4 separate regions of the Homo sapiens genome follow, and all the other regions are linked to region 1. Evidence: promoter capture Hi-C in human tissues and cell types (Jung and others, 2019). All regions are on one chromosome and are shown on one strand. The core of a region is centred on a gene start or on the middle of the fragment in contact, and the rest is flanking DNA. Distances in the headings are between cores, read along the strand shown. Region 1 holds the start of PRRX1 (paired related homeobox 1). Region 2 overlaps LINC01681 (long intergenic non-protein coding RNA 1681). Region 3 has its middle 84 kb from the start of LINC01142. Region 4 has its middle 43 kb from the start of LINC01142.

Evidence for each region. The method cuts DNA at HindIII sites, captures the fragments that hold promoters and counts their contacts. A contact is called where the count stands out against the background at its distance.
Region 2: a contact is called between a fragment that was not itself captured here and the fragment with the promoter of PRRX1 in region 1, in 1 of the 25 tissues and cell types used here (stomach).
Region 3: a fragment that was not itself captured here is called in contact with the fragment with the promoter of PRRX1 in region 1 in 2 of the 25 tissues and cell types used here (hippocampus and thymus).
Region 4: a fragment that was not itself captured here is called in contact with the fragment with the promoter of PRRX1 in region 1 in 2 of the 25 tissues and cell types used here (adrenal gland and bladder).

Annotation. Positions count from the first base shown.
Region 1 is chr1:170,661,586-170,667,214 of GRCh38, forward strand. It overlaps PRRX1 (paired related homeobox 1), which reads left to right and starts at 2,546. Exons shown (of 4, transcript NM_022716.4): 1 at 2,546-2,874. The coding sequence starts at 2,634. RefSeq lists enhancers at 1,451-1,978, 3,179-4,039. The HindIII fragment of the contact is 17,405 bases long and covers 1-5,629 here.
Region 2 is chr1:170,202,616-170,208,500 of GRCh38, forward strand. The region is part of intron 1 of LINC01681 (long intergenic non-protein coding RNA 1681); the gene reads left to right. Among named protein-coding and RNA genes, the nearest start is that of LINC01681, 31 kb to the left of the region's middle. The HindIII fragment of the contact is 7,588 bases long and covers 1-5,044 here.
Region 3 is chr1:170,365,259-170,371,566 of GRCh38, forward strand. It overlaps the pseudogene HAUS4P1. Among named protein-coding and RNA genes, the nearest start is that of LINC01142, 84 kb to the left of the region's middle. The HindIII fragment of the contact is 8,294 bases long and covers 1-5,868 here.
Region 4 is chr1:170,323,727-170,330,170 of GRCh38, forward strand. No RefSeq gene overlaps it. Among named protein-coding and RNA genes, the nearest start is that of LINC01142, 43 kb to the left of the region's middle. The HindIII fragment of the contact is 4,115 bases long and covers 1,887-6,001 here.

The DNA of each region.
Region 1 (5,629 bases), core at 1,296-3,795:
GATCGAGCGACTTGCGCGGCGCACAGTGCGGCGCTGGCAGGGCTCTGGGCTCCCGGTCGGGGGTTCGAGCGGCCAAGGGATGGGGGTGGGGGCGGGGAGAGTGGGGGGAGGGCGAAAGACCGCCGAGAGGAGGGGGGAGTGGGTGGACTAATGATGAAAAAGTCTCCTCCATCCCAGTTCCTTAATTAAATGCATGGAAAGAACCGAGGCGAGCACATCTGGTTTCAATCTACAGCCCTTTGATGGCATCAAATGTTCTTTTCCCAGATCAGGGCTGGAAGTTCTGGGCTAACTATGGCCGTTTGGAGCCCAGAAACCATTTACACACACTCGTACCCTTCTTTCTCTCCAGTCGAGCCTCTTGACTATAGGACGAAAAAAAAAAAAAGTCTAGCAATCAAGGGAGTGCGGGAGTACGGATGCGTGTGTGTGTGTGTGAGTGCGCGTTTAAAGAACATAAAACGCCACAAATAAGCACTTAATATTTTACTGAGTCGTCATACAGTAACTCATTTCTAATGAGACTGTTAAAGCTGTTACCAAATTCCAACAGGTCATGAAAAAACTGCTCAGCACCTCTCTGTCTTCTGTCAGGTTAGGGCTCCGCAGACGGACGACAGAGGATTATCCGTAGACTTAGATGGGGGTTCCTCCGCCCCTCTCTGTCCTCCTGCCACCACAGCCAGGCTGGACGCAGAACCGCACGGAAGCCTCCCCAACTCCTGCCTCTGGGAGTGCTCCTGCCTGCTTCAAGGAATCTGGGCAGCGGGACCCTCTGGGTTTAGCGTCCTCGCCTGGGGAAGCAACTTTGGCCTTACCGTAGAAGTTACAAAATTGGCGGGGGTAGGGAGAAAGATTATAATATATATTTGGAGTCCTTTCTTCCAGTTTAATAAACACGTACTTTTCTCATTGCCCTAGTCCTGGTATGCCTAATGGCGGGGAAAGCCTCAAATAAACTCGGTGCCCTCTGGATCTCCCCAACCTGCCTTTAGTCCTTGCGAGAGGCGTGAGAGAACTTCCTATTATCATCCCTTTTGTTATTTTTATTACATTATTTAATAGGCTCCCTCTACGGAACCAAAAATAGCCTTAATATGCTTACTTTCTCCCTGTACTCCGCCCCAAACTGTTAGAACAGCAGAAAATTTTTTTTTGGGGGGGGGCGGTTTGGGGGAAGGCAGAAGGAGAAGAAAATTTGATTGTGATGGTGGTGGATTTTTTCCAAATTTCCCCACAGCTGTTATCAAAACATGCAAATGAGATTTTCCAACAGGATCTTAAACAAATCTGGAGGAGTTAATGCCGAAGCAAAATAATCAGCACGTTTGAAGTGACTGTGAGTTTCAGTTTGTCTTTTCTCCCCGTGATATTATTGCAGGGGAATGATAATTAGACCTTTAGAAATCCAAAGGGGCTCTCTTGCTCTCTTCCCTCTCTCATTTCTCTTCTCTCTTTCTCTCTCTCTCTCTCTCCCTTCCTCCCTCCCTCCCTCCCTCTCTCCCTCCCTCTCTCTTGTTCCCTCCCTCTCCCTTTCTCTCTAACTCTGATGTTGGCAAAGGGGGTTTTCTTAATCAGACTGTTTTTTGGTCCCAGGGAAAGGAGGAAGAAGGAGATTGTGATGGAGAAAGGGGGTCTGTGAAACGTCAGGCACAGCACAAAGGCTTTGCCACGTAATTACAGGCTCCTATTAAGTCGAGATCTGCCCTCCCAGGGGTCTCCAATTTTCTTGTATTCCCTACAAAGCCTCCTCTGCATGCCAGTTTGTGCCTTTTGAAGTGCCAGAGAGCTTCTTGATCCAACTGAGAAGGAAAAAGGAGCCCAGCAAGAAGAGGGGGAGAGAGAGAAGGGGAAAGGGGGGAACCCACCAGCACCCTCCGTCGGACTCTTGAAGCCTTTTTTTTTTAATTCTTAATTTTTTTTTTTACTCTTTACAAAAAGTAAAGTGAGAATCCTGCTCTCTAATACATCTGCAAGACATCACCCTCTCCTCCTGAAACTTTAGTCACTCCTGAGAATCCACAGGAGTGCAGAGAGGGGGGAACACGTTTTCTTGAAGATGTTTTAAAGCTGGAACAAGCCTTCTTCTGTTGGTGCTTGAACTCTTGCCTGGGAATAACTTTTTTAACCTTTAAAAAAACCATTCACTTTGATTCTTCTCTCCCACCCCTTCTTCTCTCTTCTTCTGTTTGCCTAACTCCCCCGCCCTGCTGGCCTCCGCTTTCCTCTCTCCCCCTTGTTATTATTTTTAGTCTGTGCGTGTGGACACTTTTGGAGAGTTGGAAGGGATTTTTTTCTCCTGACTTGAACATAGGGTGACTTTTTAATATTGTATTTTACTGTGGATTATCTCTTTGGACCGCGCCGGACTTGGCCTCAGGAAATCAACCAATGCTGCGGAAGGCGGCTGGTGCACAACGCTCTGCTCTACAGAAGGGGGTCCCCCACCCTCTTTTCCAATTTTTTTTTTTTGGCCTTCCTCTCCTTCCCTCCCTCTTCCTCCCTCTCTCTCTCTCTCTCTCCACTACCCCCCTCTTTCTTCCCCACTCGGCTCCTCTCCCCCCTCGCGCCCACAGCGTTTGGTGTTGATTCGAGCGGGAAGAGGGGGGTGGGTGGGATCGGTGGGGGAGACCATGACCTCCAGCTACGGGCACGTTCTGGAGCGGCAACCGGCGCTGGGCGGCCGCTTGGACAGCCCGGGCAACCTCGACACCCTGCAGGCGAAAAAGAACTTCTCCGTCAGTCACCTGCTAGACCTGGAGGAAGCCGGGGACATGGTGGCGGCACAGGCGGATGAGAACGTGGGCGAGGCTGGCCGGAGCCTGCTGGAGTCGCCGGGACTCACCAGCGGCAGCGACACCCCGCAGCAGGACAGTGAGTGAGGGGCGCATGCCCACGGGGGTGTGTGCCCGGGACAGAGGGCGGGGACCCGTGTAGGGCAGCTAGAGCCCGTCCGCGGCCAGAAAGACAAGGTCCTGGGACCAGGAGAGGTGATGGCAGACTTCAAAGGAAGGGCCAGTCACAGGGGAAACCAGATGAGAAAAGCGGGTCTCGGCCGAGGGCATAGCCAAGGAGGACGCTGGAGAGAGGCTCCAAGGTCCGGGGACACTCCGAGGCCCTGCGGTCTCAGGCAGGGACTCTGTCCGCGGCGGACTCTCTTTACTTCGGCTAGGCACCGGCTCGGTTCATCCCGCACGCGGGGCGGCGGGGCTGGGCTGGGAAAAGGTCTTAGCGGGGTGCAAACTCAGAGAGCCAGCGCTGTTTGGGAAAGCAGCAGGTTAAAGATGCTGAGTCGGGTTGGAAGGGCTTCTCTCGGGCAGCGTATGACGGCTTGAGGGAGGGCACCAGGCACAGGGAGCAGGACTTGGCGCTGCTCAGGCTGCACTCTCCACGCGGGCACCGTAAGGCCGGGCGCGACCGGGAGGCCCCGAGAGAACGCCCGGCCCCAGACGCTGGAGCTGCTCTCTGCCCCCTGCTGTTGCCTCTACCGCAAATGGGTTTGAGACTGGCAGAGTCAAAAGCCCGGCTGGCTTGGGAAAACTCGGGCCAAGCAAAGGGAATGTCCTTTAAGGGTGAAACCTGAAATCCAGCCCCGCATGATCCCGCACAGGCGAGCTGCATCCGGGAGGCGCGAGCTTCAGTGCGGAGGCCAGTGTCACCTTAGAGGAGCTCTCCCTATTGGCTCTTAAACGCCCAGAAAAGTCCAGTTTCCCTTCCCCATCCTCACCGACCAACCTCGCGACCCATGAAAATCTCGCTTCGCTAGTGCCTTAAAAAGAGACTGCAATTGTATCCCCATGCCCCCAAGTCTGTAACAGACCGGTCACCCTGTTCATCCCAGGTGACATGTGGCCAGATATGTACAGATACTCCCTCTTCTCCTCGAGGTTGCAAGAGTCTGAACTTAGCTGTAAGTTCTCAAATGAGGCTGGTTGCTTTCTATGTCAGTAGTTGCTGGTTACCATTTTTGTCTTCAAATTTGGAAATCGTGGAACCGGGGGGCCCTCCAGCATTCTATGATTTTCACAAAACGTTGCCTATTTCAGACTCTCAAAGAATAGACATACAAATCAAACTGCACATAGAAACAATTGGAAACAGGGTCCGGGCACAGTGGTGGCCCCGCGGGCCACGCTACAGCAAGCCGCAGAGAGAGCCTCTGGTGTGCTCAAGACGCCTGGTCTTCACCCTGCTTCCTTAGTTCCGGCCTGGGCGCCCCTGGGTGTTTTTAGCCAAAAGCGGCCTAGGGCCGATCCACCCAATGCATTAGCAGACTGCTACAGGAACTGAATGAGGAAGTCTGGCCTGGACACCAGAGAAAGGTGGCCAACTCTGAGGAATGAAGAACCAGGTGTCCTCAAGTTCCGCATAAAGGGCTAGGCGCAGAGACAGAGACGTTCTCTTTAGGGTTTGGGTGCTTGAGAGGCTGCACCCGCAGCATTACTTAAGTGTTTGCATAGGCACTCTTAGTTCTAACAAAATGCACTGAGAAATACTATGATTGTTTTTAAACGTTTTACCAGGGAAAATGAAAAACGAAAAATGTAGGGAGAGTCCAGGCGCGGTGGCTCACGCCTGTAATCCTAGCACTTTGGGAGGCCGAGGCGGGCAGATCACGAGGTCAGGAGTTCGAGACCAGCCTAACCAACGTGGTGAAACCCCTCTCTCCTAAAAATACAAAAATTAGCCGGGCGTAGTGCCGAGCGCCTGTAATCCCGGTTACTCAGCAGGCTGAGGCAGGAGAATCGCTTAAACCCGGGAAGCAGAGGTTGCAGTGAGCCCAGATAGTGCCACTGCACTCCAGTCTGGATGACAGAGTGAGACTCCGTCTCAAAAAAAAAAAAAAAAAAAAAAAGTAGGGAGAACAGCATTTGGTGTAGACCCCAGCTTCACCAATTCTGCACGTCCAGTCGTTTCTGTTTTGCCAGGACGACTTATTAATTGCAACATTTACCACTGTTCGGATACTAGAGGCTGGACCCACAACAGAAAACAGGACCACGAAGAAACTTCTGCTTAGAAGACCAGAGTGGGGCAGGAGAGACTAGATGCTGCTTTGCCCTATGAGGAGGCTGGAGGATGAGAAAACCAGGGCCAAGGCCAGCGGCCTCGGCCAGCCTAGGGAACAAGCCAGCCGTGGTGGCCCTCAGATACTGCAGGGGAAGAGGGATGAAAATTGTACCGGTTGTTTGGCTCTGAGTGGACGCCACTCCCAAGAAGGGAGCTCGGGATTCGTCGTGGCCTTAGAGTGGGTATGGAGCCGGGCTGGCCAGAGGAAGCTAGCTATGGAGCGCCCCCGAGCAGATTCGGAGGCGACGCGCGGTGGCTGGGAGGCTGCCCTGGACTGGGGACAGGCTTCTGTGAGACCTGAGCCTGGCGCCTCAGAGGCCCTGTGGAGCACGTGGAGTCCTCAGGAGCGCTCGAGGACAAGCTCAGCATCCCGGGCGGAATTGGGGACTGTATGTCCCGGGAGAAGGGGAGAAGACTCTAGAAACTCGCCCACGTGATACTCGGGCTCATCTCAGAGTTACAATGACTAGAGAGGCCTTGTGGGGAGAAGACCCAGAAAGGAAACTGAGGCTCAGAAAGAGGATGCTCTGCGGAAGCATGATCAAGAGACAGCTTCCGG
Region 2 (5,885 bases), core at 1-2,500, 460 kb before region 1:
TGTTATGCTGGTTCACAAGACAAACTTTAAAAGAAAACGAGTGAGGTCTCCTTAGGACCTTTTCCACTGATTGGCCCCTTCTTTGAATGGGGGTTCCTAATAGTCACTGTTTCTCAACCAATAGCATGAAATGCTTGCTTCCAGATCTTGTTTTTAAGTCTTTAGAACAGAGAGGTGATGATAAGTGGGGACTGTAATAAAGCCTCACTAGTGTACTTGATACACTTCCTTTTTTTTTTATTTTTATTTTTTATTTTTTGAGATGGAGTCTCGCTCTGTTGCCCGGGCTGGAGTGCAGTGGCGTGATCTTGGCTCACTGCAACCTCTGCCTCCCAGGTTCAAGCGATTCTCCTGTCTCAGCCTCCCAAGTAGCTGGGATTACAGGCACACACCACCCCTCCCAGCTAGCTTTTTGTATTTTTAGTAGAGACGGGGTTTCACCATGTTGGCCAGGCTGGTTTCGAACTTCTGACCTCAGGTGATCCACTTGCCTTGGCCTCCCAAAGTGCTGGGACTACAGGCGTGAGCCACCGTGCCGGGCCTATTGTACATGATAATCTTATGTGCACTATGAAGTTTGAGAAAAGATAAGAGGCAGGGAATGGGTAGAGATGGTTTCACTAAAGAACTACCTTGGGCCAGGTACTAAATAGTTACTTTTTATATGTTCCTTATTTAAATGTGGCAAAAAACTTTCATTTCAGACTTATCAATGGCTCAGACTTTTTAGAGTTTATTTCCTAGCTGCTAATTTTCTGGATTTGTTATTTAGAGCCTGAACTTAAGAAGCTGAGAAATATGAGTTCAAATCATTCTTGTTTTCTGTGGGTAAGCATTTTAGTGCTTAAAATAGGAGGATTATCAATTTCTCTTCTGTAAAATATAGGAATGGCAACACCTACTTAATGGGATTGATGTGACAAATAACTGAGATATTTTAATCAAGGTGTGAATTACAGTGACTCTTCTATAGTAGATACTCAGTGAGTGAGAGCAGTGGTTATAATCTTTACCTAGACATATGCTTCTGGCCAGGGAGGAGACACCCAGAATCAATCCTGTTGGTATTAAAATTTTTTCTTTAAGATTTTGCAGATAAAAAATAAGGCCATGGTTCATAAAGATTCTGAGCTCAGAGTAATGGACTCATGGGTTCTCACAGAACTAGTGAGGAAAAAATGAAAGGGAAAGTCAGCATACACACACACATGCACACACACCCCACCCCTCAGTCTTTCAGATAGGGTCTGTAACAGTAAGCCAAGGTTCACTTACAGAGTTCCCATAACAAATGAGCATATGGTGAGCATTTGACTGAGGGAAATACACATCCTTTAAGGAAGCTCTTAAGTTCTCACAAATTCAATAAGAATAGAAGAATGTCTTAAAAATCAGAAGACATCAGAGACATAGAGAAACTCTCAGTAGTTTATTCTTTTTTAAAACTTGCAACTTAGAGGTGTATGTCTACATGTAGCCCTCTGAGTTAGGATGCATTCCTCCACACTACAGCCTGGAGAAAACAGATCTGCGTGTCCTTTAATCCATGATCATTGTAGATCAAGTTACCTCTTTGAAAGAACTTTTCTTTCTCTAGCCAACTAAATGAAAAGAAAATGATGTACTTAATTGTTTTCTAAATTGCAATTTTTCTCCCACAGATGTTTTTTATCAGTGTTGAGCCCAATGGGCTTTGTCAGTCACACGGGGAGATGAAATCATGTGGTAATAAAAGAGACGGGGTTGGGGGAGGAAGGGAAATACCATACAGTATATTGTCTAATTGAAAAATGTGCCACATAAATGCTGAACTTGAAATCTTTCCCTCCCCAAGGGCTACTCACAACAAACAATGCACACATCTTCTGCACTGGAAAGATTAGACTTCTCCCCTTTCTCCATTATTAATTCAGGCCAATGCAAGAGTTTCCTTTTTTTTTTTTTTTTTTGCCTTTTTTGGGTTAAGTCGTTCTACTGGAATTGTGATGCAAGGTAACAAGATTCCAAAGTGAAATCTTAAATGCAAAGGTAATGGCATCTGAGCTAGAGGGTGAAGGTTACAGTGATGATGATAAAGGGATAGCATTAGATTAAACTCTAACTTTGTAGAAGGAAGATGAGAACTAGCAACAATATCTATGAATGTATCTGAGAAATGGTTGCTAGTGATAATGCAACCTAAAATGTAGGGGAGGCTAGTAGAATTATGGCACTTGGAAAATTCAGAAAGTCTCAGGCTTCAGTGCATGTTAATGAAAGCTGGAACCATAAGTAGAGTGGATCAGGAAGTACAGACAGAAGGAAAGGCTGCATGTGTTTTTCATAGCAAGAAGGAGAATGCTACAGATGCAGGACCCATGTCAGCATCAGAGAGATTAGAAGACAAAGAGAGACTCATGCTCACAAGCAAACCTAAAGAAGTAAAAGGTTTTCACTTCCCCCTCCCCCAATACTCCATTATGGAAAACAAATGAGAATTGACTGCAGTACAAAAGCGTTGGCCTAGAAAGTCCTCTGAGAGATCTTTCTAGTTCTCCACCTGTATTCATTTGCACTGCCCTTTACCCACACTTGACTGTGCTTTAAATTTTCTGTAGGAAGTGACTTGTAACCAGTGGGATGGTAACTAAGGGGCTTTTATCAGCCCTCACTGTCAAGAGGGCCTCTCTCTTATGTCAGGAAAAAAAGGGGGCTCTTTCCTCTTGTTCTGCCATTATTGAAGAAGGAGAGCATCTAGTGATTATATAAGAAACTCAATGAATCACTTATTTTATTTTTTACTCATTTAATTTAGCTGTGTCTCATATTTGACTAAAACTAACTCCAGGGATTTCTCCAGGTTCTTTGATTGCACTGGAATCTTAATGAGTCATCCATTTCTTTGAAATATGAGGATTATTACCCAAGTGTTATATTCCTTAACTAAATAGTAATTTTTTTGTAGTAATATTTGGAATAGCCAGATTCAAACTGCATAAGAGAGAGTCACCATGTGTAATACCAAAGCTTTCTGGGGAAAAATCACATTGCATTAAGTTGCAGATGATTAGGGTTTTGTCTGGGCTTTAAAACACACTTCAACCTTTCTGTTTCTCAGTGTTCATCCCTGTATTAAAATAAACATCCTCCTCCTCATCATAATTGTCATTGTCATCATCAGCATCATCATCATTTTTCTCTTCCTCTTACTTTCTTGTTCTTCTTACTCTTTTTTCCCTATTCTGTTTTGTCCTTTCTTTCTGTCCCCTACCTCCTTCTCCTCCTTCTTCTTTTTGTTGTCTCTTCTTCCACTTCTTTTCCCCTTTTTTCTTTTGCCTATCCTTCTCCTTCTCTTCATGTTTTCTTTTGTTCTCTTTCGCTTTTCTCCTCCTCTTCCTCACTTCCTTCTTTCCATTTTCTCTATATTTTTTGAGTTTTCACTCTGTGTCAAGGTTTAGTGAAGCCTCTTACTTATGTCATCTCAACACATCTTGGTAATGGACCTAGATATTATTTTCAGAAAAGCAAATGAAGTATCAGAAAGGAATAAGTAATTTATCCATTTACATGCCAAGTAAATATGACTTTGGGTATCTCTAACTCCAAATCCATGCTTTTAGCCAAAACCTCTCTAGGAGAGATGAAAAATATTGGGGGAGAAAGGTTGAAATAATCAAAGTTGTAATTAAACTTTAAATTTATAATTTAAGAGTATGAAACATAACTTTGCATTTGTGAAAATTTGGAAGTTAATTGAGATAAGATAATTAAAATGCTTATGTGATAATATGGTTTGGCTGTGTCCCCATGCAAATCTCATCTTGAATTGTAGTTCCCATAATCCCCACATGTGGTTGGAGGGATCTGGTGGGAGATAATTGAATCATGGGGGTGGTTTCCCCCATGCTATCCTTGTAATAGTGAGTAAGTTCTCACAAGATCTGATGGTTTTATAAGGGGCTTCCCCCTTCGCTGAATTCTCATTCTTCTCCTTCCTGCCTTCTTGTGAAGAAGGATGTCTTTGCTTCCCCTTCTGCCATGTTTGTAAGTTTTCTGAGGCCTCCCCAGCCATGCTGAACTGTGAGTCAGTTAAACATCTTTCCTTTATATAATAAGTTACCCAGTCTCAGTTATGTCCTTATAGCAGCATGAGAGTGCTGCTGTATATATACTAATACAGTAAATTGGTACTGCACAGAGTGGGGTGCTGCTGTAAAAATACCTGAAAATGTAGAAGTGATTTTGGAACTGGGTAACAGGCAGAGGTTGGAATGTTTGGAGGGCTCAGAATAAGACAGGAAAATGTGGGAAAGTTTGAAACTTCCTAGAGACTTGGAGGGCTCAGAAGACAGGAAGATGTGGAAAAGTTTGGAACATCCTAGAGACTTGTTGAATGGCTTCGACAAAAATGCTGATAGTGATATGGACAATGAAGTCCAGGCTGAGGTGGTCTCACATGGAGATGATGAACTTGCTGGGAACTACAGTAAAGGTCACTTTTGCTGTGCAAAGAGACTGGCAGTATTTTGCTCCTGCCTAAAGATCGGTGGGCTTTGAACTTGAGAGAGATGACTTAGGGTACCTGGCAGAAGAAATTTCTAAGTGGCAAAGCATTCAAGAGGAAGCAGAGCATTAAAGTTTGGGAAATTTGCAGCCTAACAATGCAATAGAAAAGGAACCTCATTTTCTGGGGAGAAATTGAAGCTGGCTGCAGAAATTTGCATAAGTTATGAGGAGCTGAATATTAATTACCAAGACAATGGGGAAAATGTCTGCAGGGCATGTCAGAGACCTTCATGGCAGCCCCTCCCATCACAGACCCAGAGGTCTAGGAGGAAAAAATGGTTTTGTGGGCTAGGCCCAGGGCCCACCTGCTCCATGCAGCCTCAGGACTTGGTACCCAGTGTCCCAGCTGCTTCAGCTCCAGCTGTGGCTAAAAGGGGCCAACCTACATCTCAGGCCATTGCTTCAGAGGGTGTAAGCCCCAAGCATTGGCAGTTTACATGTGGTGTTGGGTCTGCAGGTGCATAGAAATCAAGAATTGAGGTTTGGGAACCTCTGTCTATATTTCAGAGGATGTTTGGAAATGCCGGGATGTCCATGCAGAATTTTGCTGCAGGGGTGGAGCTCTTGTAAAGAACCTCTGCTAGAGCAGTGTGGAAGGAAACTGTGGGGTCAGATCCCCCACACAGAGTCCCCACTGGGGCACTACCTAGTGGAGCTGTGAGAAGAAGGCCACCATCCTCCAGACCCCAAAATGATGGATCCACTGACAGCTTGCACCATGCATCTGGAAAAGCTGCAGGTGCTCAATGCCAGCCCATGAAAGCAGCCAGGCTGTAGCCTGCAAAGCTACAGAAGTGGAGCTGCCCAAGGCTATGGGAACCCACCTCTTGCATCAGTGTGACCTGGATTTGAGACATGGTTTCAAAGGAGATCATTTTGGAACTTTAAGGTTTAATGACTGTCTCATTGGAGTTTGGACTTGCATAGGGCCTATAAACCCTTTGTTTTGGCCAATTTCTCCCACTTGGAATGGGTGTATTTACTCAATGCCTGTACCCCCATTGTATCTAAGAAGCAACTAGCTTGCTTTTGTCTTTATAGGCTCATAGGCAGAAGGGACTTGCCTTGTCCCAGATGAGACATTGGACTTGGACTTTTGGGTTAATGCCAGGATGAGCTAAGATTTTGGGGGACTGTTGGAAAGCCATGATTGTGTTTTGAAATGTGAGGACATGAAATTTGGGAAGGTCCAGAGTGGAATTATATGGTTTGGCTGTGTCCCCACACAAATCTCATCTTGAATTATAGTTCCCATAATCCCCACATGTGGTGGGAGGGACCCAGTGGGAGTTAATTGAATTATGGGGGTGGTTTCCCTCATGCTATTCTTGTGATAGTGA
Region 3 (6,308 bases), core at 472-2,971, 300 kb before region 1:
GTTATGGCTGATATGTAAGGCTTTGTTCTTATCATATTGTTAATTTTTTTCTGGTTGTTTTGTATATTCTTAGTTCCTTTCCTTTTTTTCTATTGTCTTCGTGGTTTGGTGATTATGTATAATGGTACCATTTGAGTTATTTCTCTTTCTCATTTGTGTGTTTGCTTTACTGTTGAATTTATACTTTTATGTGTTTTCATGATGGCAAATGTTGTCCTTTCAGCTTCAAATTCCCCTGAGCATTTCCTGTAGACCAGCCTAGTGGTGATGAATACTCTCAGCATTTGCTTGTGTGGGAAAGACTTTATTTTTCTTTCATTCATGAAGGGTAATTTTGTTGACATAGTGTCATGCATATTTTTCTTTCAGTGCTTTGAATATGTCATTCCATTATCTCTTGACCTGTAAGGTTTCTGCCGAGAAATTCACTATTAGTCTGATGGGTGTTCTTTAAAAGGTATAGATGTGGGCTGGGTGTGGTGGTGCTCACGCCTATAACCCCAGCGCTTTGGGAGGTTGAGGCAGGTGGATCGCAGGGTCAGGAGTTCAAGACCAGCCTGGCAAACACAGTGAAACCCCATCTCTACTAAAAATACAATAAATTAGCCAGGTGTGGTGGTGTGCACTTGTAATCCCAGCTACTTGGGAGGCTGAGGCAGGAGAGTCACATGAGCCTAGGAAGTGGAGGTTGCAGTAAGCCGAGATCGCCCCATTGCACTTCAGCCCAGGCGACAGTGTAAGACTCCCATCTCAAAAAAAAAAAAAAAAGGTGTAGATGCTTTTCTGTTACATTTTAAAGACTCCTCTCTTTGTCTTTGGTTGTAGACAGTTTGCCCACAATGTACTATCAAGAAGAACTTTTTGCATTGTATTCATTTGAGGATCTTTGAGCTTCCTGTATCTGGTTATCTAAGTTTCTTGCTAGACTTGGGAAGTTTTCATCTAGCATTTTGTTAAATAGGTTTTCTAATCTTTCCTTTCTCTCTTTGCCCTCAGGGACACTGATAATTCAAATATTCCATTACTTTGTGTTGTCCCAAATGTCACAAAGGCTTTGCTCATTCTTTTTTATTTTATCTTTACCTTTTTCTGACTGGATTATTTCAAAAGACCAGTCTTCAAGTTCTGAGATTTTTTCTTCTGCTTGGTCTCATCTATTTTTGAAGCTTTCACACATATTTTGCATTTTAGTAAATGAATTATTCAGTTTCAGAATTTCTGTTCGATTCTTTTTTAAAATAGTTATCTTTCTGGCAATTTTTTTTTATGACCTGAATCATTTTTCTGATTCCTCTAAATTTTTTTTTCAGAATTCTCTTGTGTCTCATTGAGCTTCTTTAAAATCGGTATTTTGCATCTTTATTTGGGATTTTGTTTCTTTAATTGGGATCTGCTGCTGGAAAATTATTGAGTTCCTTTGGAGGTGTTGTATTTCCTTACTTGTTCATGTTTCCTGCATCCTTACATTGATATCTGCACATTTGGTGTAACAGACACTTCTTTCAAGTTTTTTAATTTGATTTCATGGGGCAGAACTTTTCCTGAAGATGTATATCTGTTTGCAGTTGAGTAGGTCACTCTGGCTTTGATATTGGGTGTATGCAGTAAGGTAGTCTCTGTGTGATTTCTTCATCTGTGAACAGGGTCAGTGGTATTTGTGATTTCCTTAGTGGCTTAGGGTGTAGTTGTTAGTGGAGGCTATGATGAAGTTTTTATGGGTTCTAAGATGCCTGGTGGGCCAGTCTTCAGGCCCCAGTGGTGGTAACAGTGGGTTGAGCATACCTGTCCTTGAGCCTCAGAGTGATGTATGCTGCCACTGGTATTAGCAGGTCCAGGTAGGCCAGTAGTGGCAGCTGTGGGCAAGGCATGCGGGTGGGTTCTTAGGTCTCCAGGCAGTGGTGTGATGTGGGTGACGGCAGGAGCAGTGGTGGAGCAACCCACTGGACCCCAGGTAGTCCATTCTGGTATTGGTGGTGGTTGTGATAAGTTGGGTGGGCCAGTCTGCTGACCTGCAGGTGGCTCATGTGGGTGACTGCCAGCTGTGGTGGTATCAACAGGTTGGGTCAGCCCAGCTTCAGACTCCAAGAGGAATGTTCAGGTACCATTGGTGATGAACTGGGCTGAGAGACCCCCAGGCCCCTAAATGGCATGCTAGAGTAGTAGGGAAATGGGACTGAGTTGATAACTTTGTCCTCAGGTTCCCTGGAAGTGTGTTCAGGCAGTGGCTGTGATAGGCAGGGGCAGATGGTTCCTAGGCTGCTGGCAGAATTGTCAGGTTTGGGCAGCAGTGGCTGCACTGCAGGCTGCCTCCAGGGAGGGCAAGGCCACTCTCAGTGGGAGCAGCTAAAGCAGTAAGCTGTGGAGCTTGCAGTTTGCTCACACCTTGGTCTCTTAGCAGCCTATAGCAGTGGCAGTGGTATTTGTCCTCGGGGCTTGTTAAAGTGCCCAGCTTTCTCTCTCCTTCTTTGGCCTGGTGGCCCCAGGGAAGATCACAGTGCTTTGGAGGCTGGGCTGTCAAAATGGCACTGGCTGTGGGCCTGCTACCAGGGAGGGCAGTGCCACTCTCAGTGGGAGCAGCACGGGCAGACAGCTGTGGTGTGTACAGTTTCTTCACATCTTGGCCCCACAATAGTCTGCAGTAGTGGTGGGATTTGTCCTCGGAAGAAAGTACCCATCCTCCTCTTGTTCTCCTTGGCCCAGTGGCAGCTATGGCAGTGATGGTCCCAGGGTAGGACAAAGTCCTCTGGGGGCTGAGCTCTCAGAATGATACAATGTTACAGTTGCACAAGGCTCAGAAGCCTGTGGGACTCAGCCTAAGTTCCCTTTCTGAAACAATGCCTTTGTACAATCTCTAGGCAGCTCCCTATGTTAGTCTTGATGCTCATGAGGGTTGAGGGGCTCTCCAGTGCCTAGAATTGAAGTTCATGACAAGAATTTGGAGCCCCGAAGGTCTCACTGACCATTTCCCTGCATCTGAGAGCTTCTCCCAACTCCCAGGCAATCTTGGCTGAGCAGGCTGCCTCACTTCCCTCTCCTTCTTTGTTTTCAGTGCTTCCTGTCACTTCTCTGTTGAATTCCAGTGTCCTTTCTTAGATTTGTGATTATCTGCTTCCTGGTAGAGAAGAAGGACCTATTTTGGTCCTTCTCTGTGGAAGGGGCTCATACTAGCTGCATCTGGTCAGCTATCTTGCCTCTGTCTCTCCTAGTGATTTTTGACAAAAGTGCCAAGGTATTTCAATGGGGAATGTATTCATTAATCAACAAATGGTATAATCAAAAAGTGAACATTGACCCTTTCTTTCACCATACAGAAAAATTAACTCAAAATGCATCATAGACCTAAATGTAAGTGTGAAAAACAAAACATTTCTGGAAGAATATGCAAGAAAAATCTTTGGGACCTCTAGCTAGACAAAGATATCTTAGATTGGACACATGCTCACAAACACACACACGATATAGAAATAATAGACACATTGAACTTTATCAAATATAAAACATTTGCCTTTTAAAAAACAACATTTAGAAAATAAAAAGGCAGGCCATGGACTGAAAGAAAATATTTTCAAAAGCTATATCTGATACTGAACTTATACAAAATACATAAAGAACGCTTAATTTCAATTGTAAAGACAACATTTTTAAAATAAACAAAACACTTTTTAAGATATAATATCATAACTTTATTCAGGAGATAATCAAATATACAGGGCTGACACAGACAAACAGCCATGCATAAAAATTATATAAATCTGCTTGCTAGATTTTCCAGAAGAGGCCCAGTCATTATAAACAAGAAAGAAAAACCAGGAGGGTGCCTAAACGACTGCAGTCTTTCAAGCAAGTGCAAACGTTCCCACACTCCCTTGTAGCGAAGGCAGCCCCAGGTGAACGTGGTCCTACTAGCAGGAAGATTAGGAGGCAGCAGCTGTGCAGAAGCCATGCTTCCTGGCCCTGCCAGAGATCAACAGTAGGCCTTGTTGAACTCCTGGAGGGCCCACCGCTTCTCAGTTGCCTGCTTGAGTAGGGTGGACTCTTTTCACCAGTCTGTCAAACTCCTCCCCAAGTATTTCATAGGAGTTCAGGACCTGTCTTGACTTCTCCATGTGCTGCTCCCGTAGGTGAATCGCTCCCTCCAAACGGTCCCTAATCGGACAATGAACTTCCACTTTCTCAGCAGTGTGTTGGACAAAATATTTAACTCTTCCATCCTCAGCTTAAGTATCATAGCACCACACTTGACTTCCAGGTACTGGGCATTGATGTGGTCTAACTCGGAGTGAGTCTTCAGCCGTTGTTCCTGAAGAAGCCTCTGCAGCAAAATGAGGCAGCAGAGAAGCACCTGGAAGTAGGTGGCACTCTTCTTCTCCAGCAGCACCATCTGCTCCTTTTGCTGGCTCTTGGCATCCTGGCACTGCTGCTTCCTAGCCACTAGGACCTCTGCAAGTTTCAACACGTTTGCTGCCTTTACGGTTTCACTGTCAGCATCTGAATTGGGATCATAGTACCAGAGCAGAGTGAAACATTTCTTCTTGAGCTACTCCTCCACTTCTTGCTGTAGCAGAGCCCTCATCCACACAAAATCGTCTGAGAGTGGCATGGATTCCAGAAGGTCCGCTTTCTCCAGCTCTAGCAGTGAAGGTATCTCCCTCTCCTGGCTAGGACCTAAGAGCCATGTCAGTTCAGTTATGAGTAGCCGCTGTTCAAGGGTCTCATGAAATTTTTGTCCTCAGAAGTTAAATTTGTGTCCTGTATCTTCACACAGTAGTCCACAAGCAACTCCTGAATAACTCCATGTAAAATCTCAGACCTCAACCACGTTGTCTTATGCAGTCGAACTTCCTTCCATGCCTTGTTGAAGTATTTCCATCCCTTCTCCAGGTGAGCAGAAATCCCCAAATACCTTTTGATTTTCTTGGGATTCTAATACTGGGGCAGGTGAAGCTCTCAAGGGGGTGCCAAGATCCTCGGCTGGGGCAGGCTGGACAGCAGCGTCTGTTTACACCCAGGACCCACCCCACCCCGGGGCTCCGGAACTCGCTCTGGAACCTCTCATTCGGGCCCACCACAGGGGCTAGGGGAAGCGAGGCCCAGGAGGACCGTGCTGGAAGGCCCTCCAGGAAGGGGAAGGGGCAGCAAAACATTTTAATAGACACTTCACCAAAGTAGATATGCAGATAGCAAATAAGCACATTTTTAAATATTCAAGATTATTAGTCATTAGAAAAATGCAAATACCCAACTAGAATGGTAAAATTTCTAAACGCTCACCATTCCAAGTTTTGGCAAGTTATATGGAGGAACGGGAGCTGATATAAATTGCTGGTGGGAATGTAAAATTGTATAGTCATTTCTGGATGTTTAAACACATAAATAGACTATAGAGTTAAACATATTCATACTTACCATACAGCCTAGAAAATCTGCTGTTTGTTTTTACTCGAGAGAAATAAAAGCATAAGTCAACTCAAGACACATACTTAACTGTTTATAGAAGTTTTACTTGTAGCTCCAAACTTGAAACAATTCAAATTTCTACCAATCAGGAATATTTTTAATTAGACATAATTTTATTTTATTTTATTTTTATTTATTTTTTATTATACTTTAAGTTTTAGGGCACATGTGCACAATGTGCAGGTTAGTTACATATGTATACATGTGCCATGTTGGTGTGCTGCACCCATTAACTCATCATTTAACATTAGGTATATCTCCAAATGCTATCCCTCCTCCCTCCCCCCACCCTGCAACAGGCCCCGGTGTGTGATGTTCCCCTTCCTGTGTCCATGTGTTCTCATTGTTCAATTCCCACCTATGAGTGAGAACATGCGGTGTTTGGTTTTTTGTCCTTGCCATAGTTTGCTGAGAATGATGGTTTCCAGCTTCATCCATGTCCCTACAAAGGACATGAACTCATTATTTTTTATGGCTGCATAGTATTGCATGGTGTATATGTGCCACATTTTCTTAATCCAGTCTATCATTGTTAGACATTTGGGTTGGTTCCAAGTCTTTGCTATTGTGAATAGTGCTGCAATAAACATACGTGTGCATGTGTCTTTATAGTAGCATGATTTATAATCTTTTGGGTATATACCCAGTAATGGGATTGCTGGGTCAAATGGTATTTCTAGTTCTAGATCTCTAAGGAATCTTCTGACTTCCACAATTGTTGAACTAGTTTACAGTCCCACCAACAGTGTAAAAGTGTTCCTATTTCTCCACATCCTCTCCAGCACCTGTTGTTTCCTGACTTTTTAATGATCGCCATTCTAACTGGTGTGAGATGGTATCTCATTGTGGTT
Region 4 (6,444 bases), core at 2,694-5,193, 340 kb before region 1:
GAAAAATGTCATTGGTAATTTGGTAGGAATAGCATTAAATCTGTAAATTGGGGCAGTATGGCCATTTTAATGATATTAATTCATACTATCCATGAGCATGGAATGTTTTTTCATTTGTTTGCATCATCTCTGACTTATTTCAGCCGTGTTTTGTAATTCTTGTTTTAGAGATCTTTCACCTCCCTGGCTGGCTGTATTCCTAGGCATTTTACTCTTTTTGTGGCTATTGTGAATGGGATTGCATTCTTGATTTGGCTCTCAGATTGGACATTATTGACGCATAGAAATGCTACCCGTTTTCGCTGGGCGTGGTAGCTCACACCTGTAATCCTAGCACTTTGGGAGGCCGAGGCACGCAGATCACCTGAGGTCAGGGGTTCGAGATCAGCCTGGCCAACATGTTGAAAGCCCATCTCTACTAAAAATACCAAAAATCAGCCGGGCATAGTGGCGGGTGCCTGTAATCCCAGCTACTCAGGAGGCTGAGACAGGAGAATCGCTTGAACCTGGGAGGCAGAGTTTCCAGTGAGCCGAGATCGTGCCGTTGCACTCCAGCTTGGGCAACAAGAGCGAAACTCCGTCTCAAAAAAGAAAGAAAGAAAGAAAGAAATGCTACTGGTTTTCATGCATTGATTTTTTTATCCTGAAACTTTGCTGAAGTTGTTTATCAGATTGAGAAGCGTGCAGAGACTCTGGAGTTTTCTAGATATAGTATCTTATCATCTTAAAAGAGAGATTGTTCGACTTCCTCTCTTTCTATTTAGATGTCTTTTCTGTCTTTCTCTTGCCTGATTGCTCTAGCTAGGACTTCCAGTACTATGGTGAGTAGGAGTGGTGAGAGTGGGCAAACTTATTTTATTATGAACAAAAGTTTCTTATCAGATTATTATTTATAATTGAGAAAAACTGAGAATTATCTAAATGTTTAAAAATAGGAGATAAATTAAATGAATAGTATATTCACAAAATAGTAAACTATGCCATTGTTTAAAAATAATAATATTTAATGGCATGAAAATATTTATGGTATATTGGTAAGTACAAAAAGCACAGTATAGAACACTGTGATGCTAATTTTGTTATTTTTTTTTAAGGATGACTAAAAGCCTGTACAACACAGTGTCAACTGTAGTATCTCTGGGTGACTTTTATGTACTTTTTCTATTTTCCTATGTTTTTCAAACATTATATATTGAACATACATTATATTACTTTACTAATAAGACAAAATAAGTTATAATATTTCAAATTTCTTTGCATTAAAAACCAGTGTTCACATATGAAATTTGGTTTAAACAACAACATTGACTATCACATGTCATTGGCAACTTTTGGATAAGACACAAAAGCTCATAGAAAAGGCTAAGCCAATAATATTTGTTGAGAATTTACTATGTGCCAGGTATTTTGCCAAGCTTATCTAATTTAATCCTCATATAAACCACCTGAGATAGATGGTGTACAGCCTTTCTTTAATTCCTCTTTATATACTGGAATATAATTCATCCAGAAGATTTTCTCACAAGGGTCTTGTTCAATGTCATTGAAACCACCCTGTATTTTTCAAAATGATGATGATGAGCTGATTCCTGAGGTTGGAACTGAAAATTGTTCTGTGATTGTGAGACATGGCTCTTTGAAAGCATCACAAGCACCATCACAGTGAGGAAACACAAAGACTTCTGGGAAGGAATTAGTTATTGGCACCAGGAATCGATGTCTAAGACAGATGTCCATGACTTCCGTCCAGTCTAGCCTTAAAAACTTGTAAACACATATCTCTATGAAGAACCAGAACCTCTCTGAGGGGAATGTGTATTCGTTCTCCTTCCTTTTGGATCTAATCATTTTACCAAATTACTTGAGAACATGCACCAAAAAACAAAAAGAAGTGTAACTTTTCCTTTAATGGATTAAATAACCAGAAAGTTTGTAAAGTGGAAAAAGTAAGTATGAATTCTATTTTCCCTAAGATCAGAAGTAAAACAATTTAATCTTTTTGAAGAGATCAGATAATTTGGTTTTGGCATTTAAAATTCTCTGTCTCTTTTCTGAGAAAGGATCACTTGATTTTATAAATTCTTTCCTCCATCAATTAAAAATACTCTGATTCTTCCTAGTGATTGAGGTAAAAAACAAGGTTTCATATAGATGTTTTTCTTCTAGTGGCCACAAAAGTAGGGTTTAACATTTAGGGAATGTGTATCTCATCTTTTCTGAAGTTTTATTTATTAACAATGTGTCATTTTTATATTTTATGAAGAATGCTTCCCAAGACAGTGTGGCTGAATATCTCAACTCCAGTTGGATGGGAGTAAAAAGGCCTTTATAATTACAGGGTGGAAAAGTAATGCAAGCTTCATTTAGACAAAGAGTTCTTTGCCCTAGACAACTTCAAAAAGTGACCGAGGGAGGGTCTGGAATTTCATTTAAATGAACATGGTGCCTGTCATTATACTTGACACCTGGGTTTAGTATCCAAATGCTGAATGAAAAAAAAAAAAAAAAAAAAAAAAGCACAGACCACAATAGGACAAGATAGATACCTCTGTATATTGCTCTTCACGCAACACTTTCCTCATTGCCAAGAAGAGTATTATAAATCACTCCCTGATTATTCTTCATATGTTCCCCAGATTGTAGTTCATTTTCCCAAACTTCAACTTATTGCTCTTTGCTGGACTGTAAGACCAGAGTGTGATATTGAAACCAGGCTCAACTTCTTCAGAACTCTACTATTCATATTACTCAGCCTTTGTGGTTGTGCTCAGTGCTAAATCTATGGTTGCTCCACTCCCATTAAAAGCTCCCTGGATTTTGTTTAAGCAGGGTGATATCCTTTGTTACCTCTGAATGGCCTGTGGACAATTTTGGCTAACCCTTGAGAAGTCCACACACTTTGCCTGGTTTGACGTACTTCAGAAGCCATCAAATATAGCACATGTAATGGCTCTGTGACAGGAAGATTCTGAAGCTGGGGACTAGGAATATATGTTGTCCTAATTACTGAGGGATGCTTTTACCTATCAGTATAAGCTCTGAAAGGAAATGGATGTGGCTAAGTGTACATGGATCATTAAGCTTTCTTCCTTCTATAAACTGTGATCTTTCTTCCAATTTTAACTTGAATGTCAGGCAATAGGATCACAGTTCCAAGAAGAAAAAAATGTTTAAGGCCTGGAGAAGGGAACGGTGGGGAAAAGAAGTAACATTTTTAAAAGTCTCTTGAGTTTTAAGTGGAGACACTGAAGGAGGCAGGATCAAAGACATCTTTTCATAATACTGGTAATAATTATTACTGATGATAATTTAAATACTTGATTGTTTCCACTATATTCAAAGGAGACTTGTGGTTTGGTTGTGCCTCCAGAAATTACAGAATATAAAACAAAGTTGGAAAGTTGCACATGGACCAGACTTTGTAAAGGAAAGAAATAGCATTTGAAATTTAAATAGAACTCATAGAAATTATTTTGCAAAGATAATTTATTAGGAGAAGCAGAAAGAACTCTAACCAAAAAAGAATAAGGTGTCACATGTGTTTTTTACGAAACAACATAAAAGGGAGCTTTAATGATGCCTTCCAGAATGCAGTAATAAATATTGGTGATATAATGTAGGGATTGGGCATGATGGGTGGAAGCAGGTAAATAATAAATATTCACTGGACCAGATTCTAGTATAGAGTTGAGTAGGGAGAAGCCAAGTTACAATTTTTGCACAAAGAATACCGTGTTCTCAAAACTCCTTGCCTCCTCCAAAACACTATATCCATTTGAAGAAGGGTTCCAGCCAGAACTCAGTTCTTCCATGCCCCTCATGTCTGACAAGAAGTTCTGCAAAAACATGTCTTGCCAACCTGCACATCACTCATGTCCTGAACTTTCTGGAAATTTAAGCCCTCATTGGGAGAATAGGATGTTTGTTTTAAGTTCCCTCTATAGGCCCATAGGAGTTTATAACTGCCTGTAGCTGGTGCCAGCTATACAGACTGAAGTGTGTAAAGATCAACTATAGATAATTGAGTTAGAGATTGCTAATAATCACTGATGGTTAACAAATCAACAAAAGAATTTATCAAATATCCTTGATATGTAAGGCCAGAGGAATATAAATAAATTTAAGACACAGCTGCATTCAAGAGACCTACAATCTTGTTGTAGGGAGGACATTAGATATTAGTTATTGCTAGGTATTGTTAGTTAATTTTTCATGAATATCAACATGAATTGGATGATCAATAAAAGCCATCAAGTTCAGATAAAGGAGAAATAGATCACCAGGAACTAGAGTGATGACAGTCTTCAGAAAATTTATGAGACCTGAGGAAGGAAGGGAGAGAACAAACATACCTTCACATGTTCTTTTACTTAATCCTCTCACTGAGTATCTGAGGTAGATTTTGTTCTTATTTTACATATGAGAACACGGAAGCCCAGAGATGCTTAGAAACTTGTGAAGGTCACAAAACCAGTAAACAGAAACATCAGGATTTGAACCCAGTTTCAGCTGCATTCATAATCTTATACTCTTTGCACTTTATCATGAAGGATGGATGGATGTGATGGGCTGAGAAGAGGCCAGAGAGCTGATTTAGAAAACATAGGTGCTGATTCACAAAACACAGCATTTGGCATGTGTTTTCTAAAGAAACACCTGCCAGATGATTGAAATTAGTCCAGAAGTTAGCAGCTGTCTCAGTGAAGGAAGAAGGAAAGAAACATGGCAGCCCAACACACGGAAGAAGATGCTATAATTGGAGAGTTTTTAGCTAATTATTTTCCTATTTGGGGTTTCTCCAGAAGCAGACTGAGAGACAAAGATTCAAATGCAAGCAGTATGTAAGGGTCAAACTGGAAAAATTGATAAAAAACTATAGGAGTGAGACAGAAGAGAAGGCAGCAAACACAAGGTCAGATATTAAGACAACGACCACTGTGGATAACAGAAACTTAATCTTACAGGGGAATCTTTGGAAAACGGTGTAGAAAACAAGCCTCAGACTCCTCCGCCCAAGTATTCAGCTCCTACCAGCCATTGGTTAAGAACTGCAGGTGGCAGAGGGTACAGTAGTTATTTCTCTGGTACTGCTTGTCTACCATGTATACAAAGAGACCTTTATCCAAGTCTTGGAGGAAAAGCCCAAGGAGAATGCATAAGATACTGACAGCTGAAGCTCGCTGCCTGAATGACATGGTTAAGGCCCAGGGATATGCACAGGGCATTGATAGCACCTGCTACAAACATCAGTATCTTTGGCGCAGGCTTTGTGATATTCTCTATTATTCTACCCTCTTTGAAGTGTATGAGTATGCAGATCATTGTCTCTCAAACTTCCGAGTGCATAAGGAGCACTTGGGAAGCTTGTTAGCAAACCAGATTCTGGAAACTTACCCATTGAAATTCTGACTCCTATTTCAGGAATGGAGTCCAGGAATTTGCATCATTAATAGGTATCCCAGATGATTCTGACACATAAGGTCTGCGGATCACACAATGAGAGACAATGCCCGGACTGTCCAAGTATTATACAAAAAATATACGAACAAGAGGGAAGCTCTGTTATTCGGTAAAGAGAATGGCTTTTGGATCAAGGTATCCTTGGATTTGAAAGCTGGCTCCATTACTTAGTGATCTTAGGAAAGTTAAATAATCTCTTTGCTTCTGTTTCTTTACCTATAAAATTGGGGTAAAAGCACCCATCTCAACTGTTTGTATGAGAATTAAATAATGTAATACAGAATAGTCCAGAGCAGTGTAAGGTACATGGTAAGTGCTCAGTGTTAATTCCCTCCTTTAATTTTTCTTAGGAGATTAAAATCTGTTGACTTCTTTGTACCAATGGCAATTGATTGTTAGTGCTGTTTGACAAATTATGCCTGTATAATTTATACAAATTATAGAAGAAAACTCAGTAATAAAACAATGCAGGCCTCAGCTCTAAATTTACCCCATACTTTGTCAGTGCACCTAAAACTTGGGCTATTTTTTGTCTTCCACTTGCAATCACATTACCTAATGATTATCCTGGGGCTATCAAAAGAAATGCTCACATGCCAAGGAACAGATCAGGTTGATCTGGCTTCTAGATCTTGCCCAAGGACTTGACTCTAGATTCTCATTCTTAGACACTGAATTTCTATACTGAGAAGCTACTACATTTGGTTTATTGGCTCTTTATGTTTCCAGGAATGACATTTCCAAGCATATATTGGGGAAAAAAAGGATGATACCAAGAAAAAGATTAGAGACAACGCATAGATCATGATTTTGGATAAATCATGCCTATTTATTGTTATCCCATCATACCCAAATTGATTGGCAATCAGAATGAATTTGAAATTATAATAGTATTACCATAATATGGACCTAAAAAGATGAATATTATAGCACAAAGCAAAATGCTTTGCACTTAGAAGATCCACAAATGCTTGTTGAGTTTAT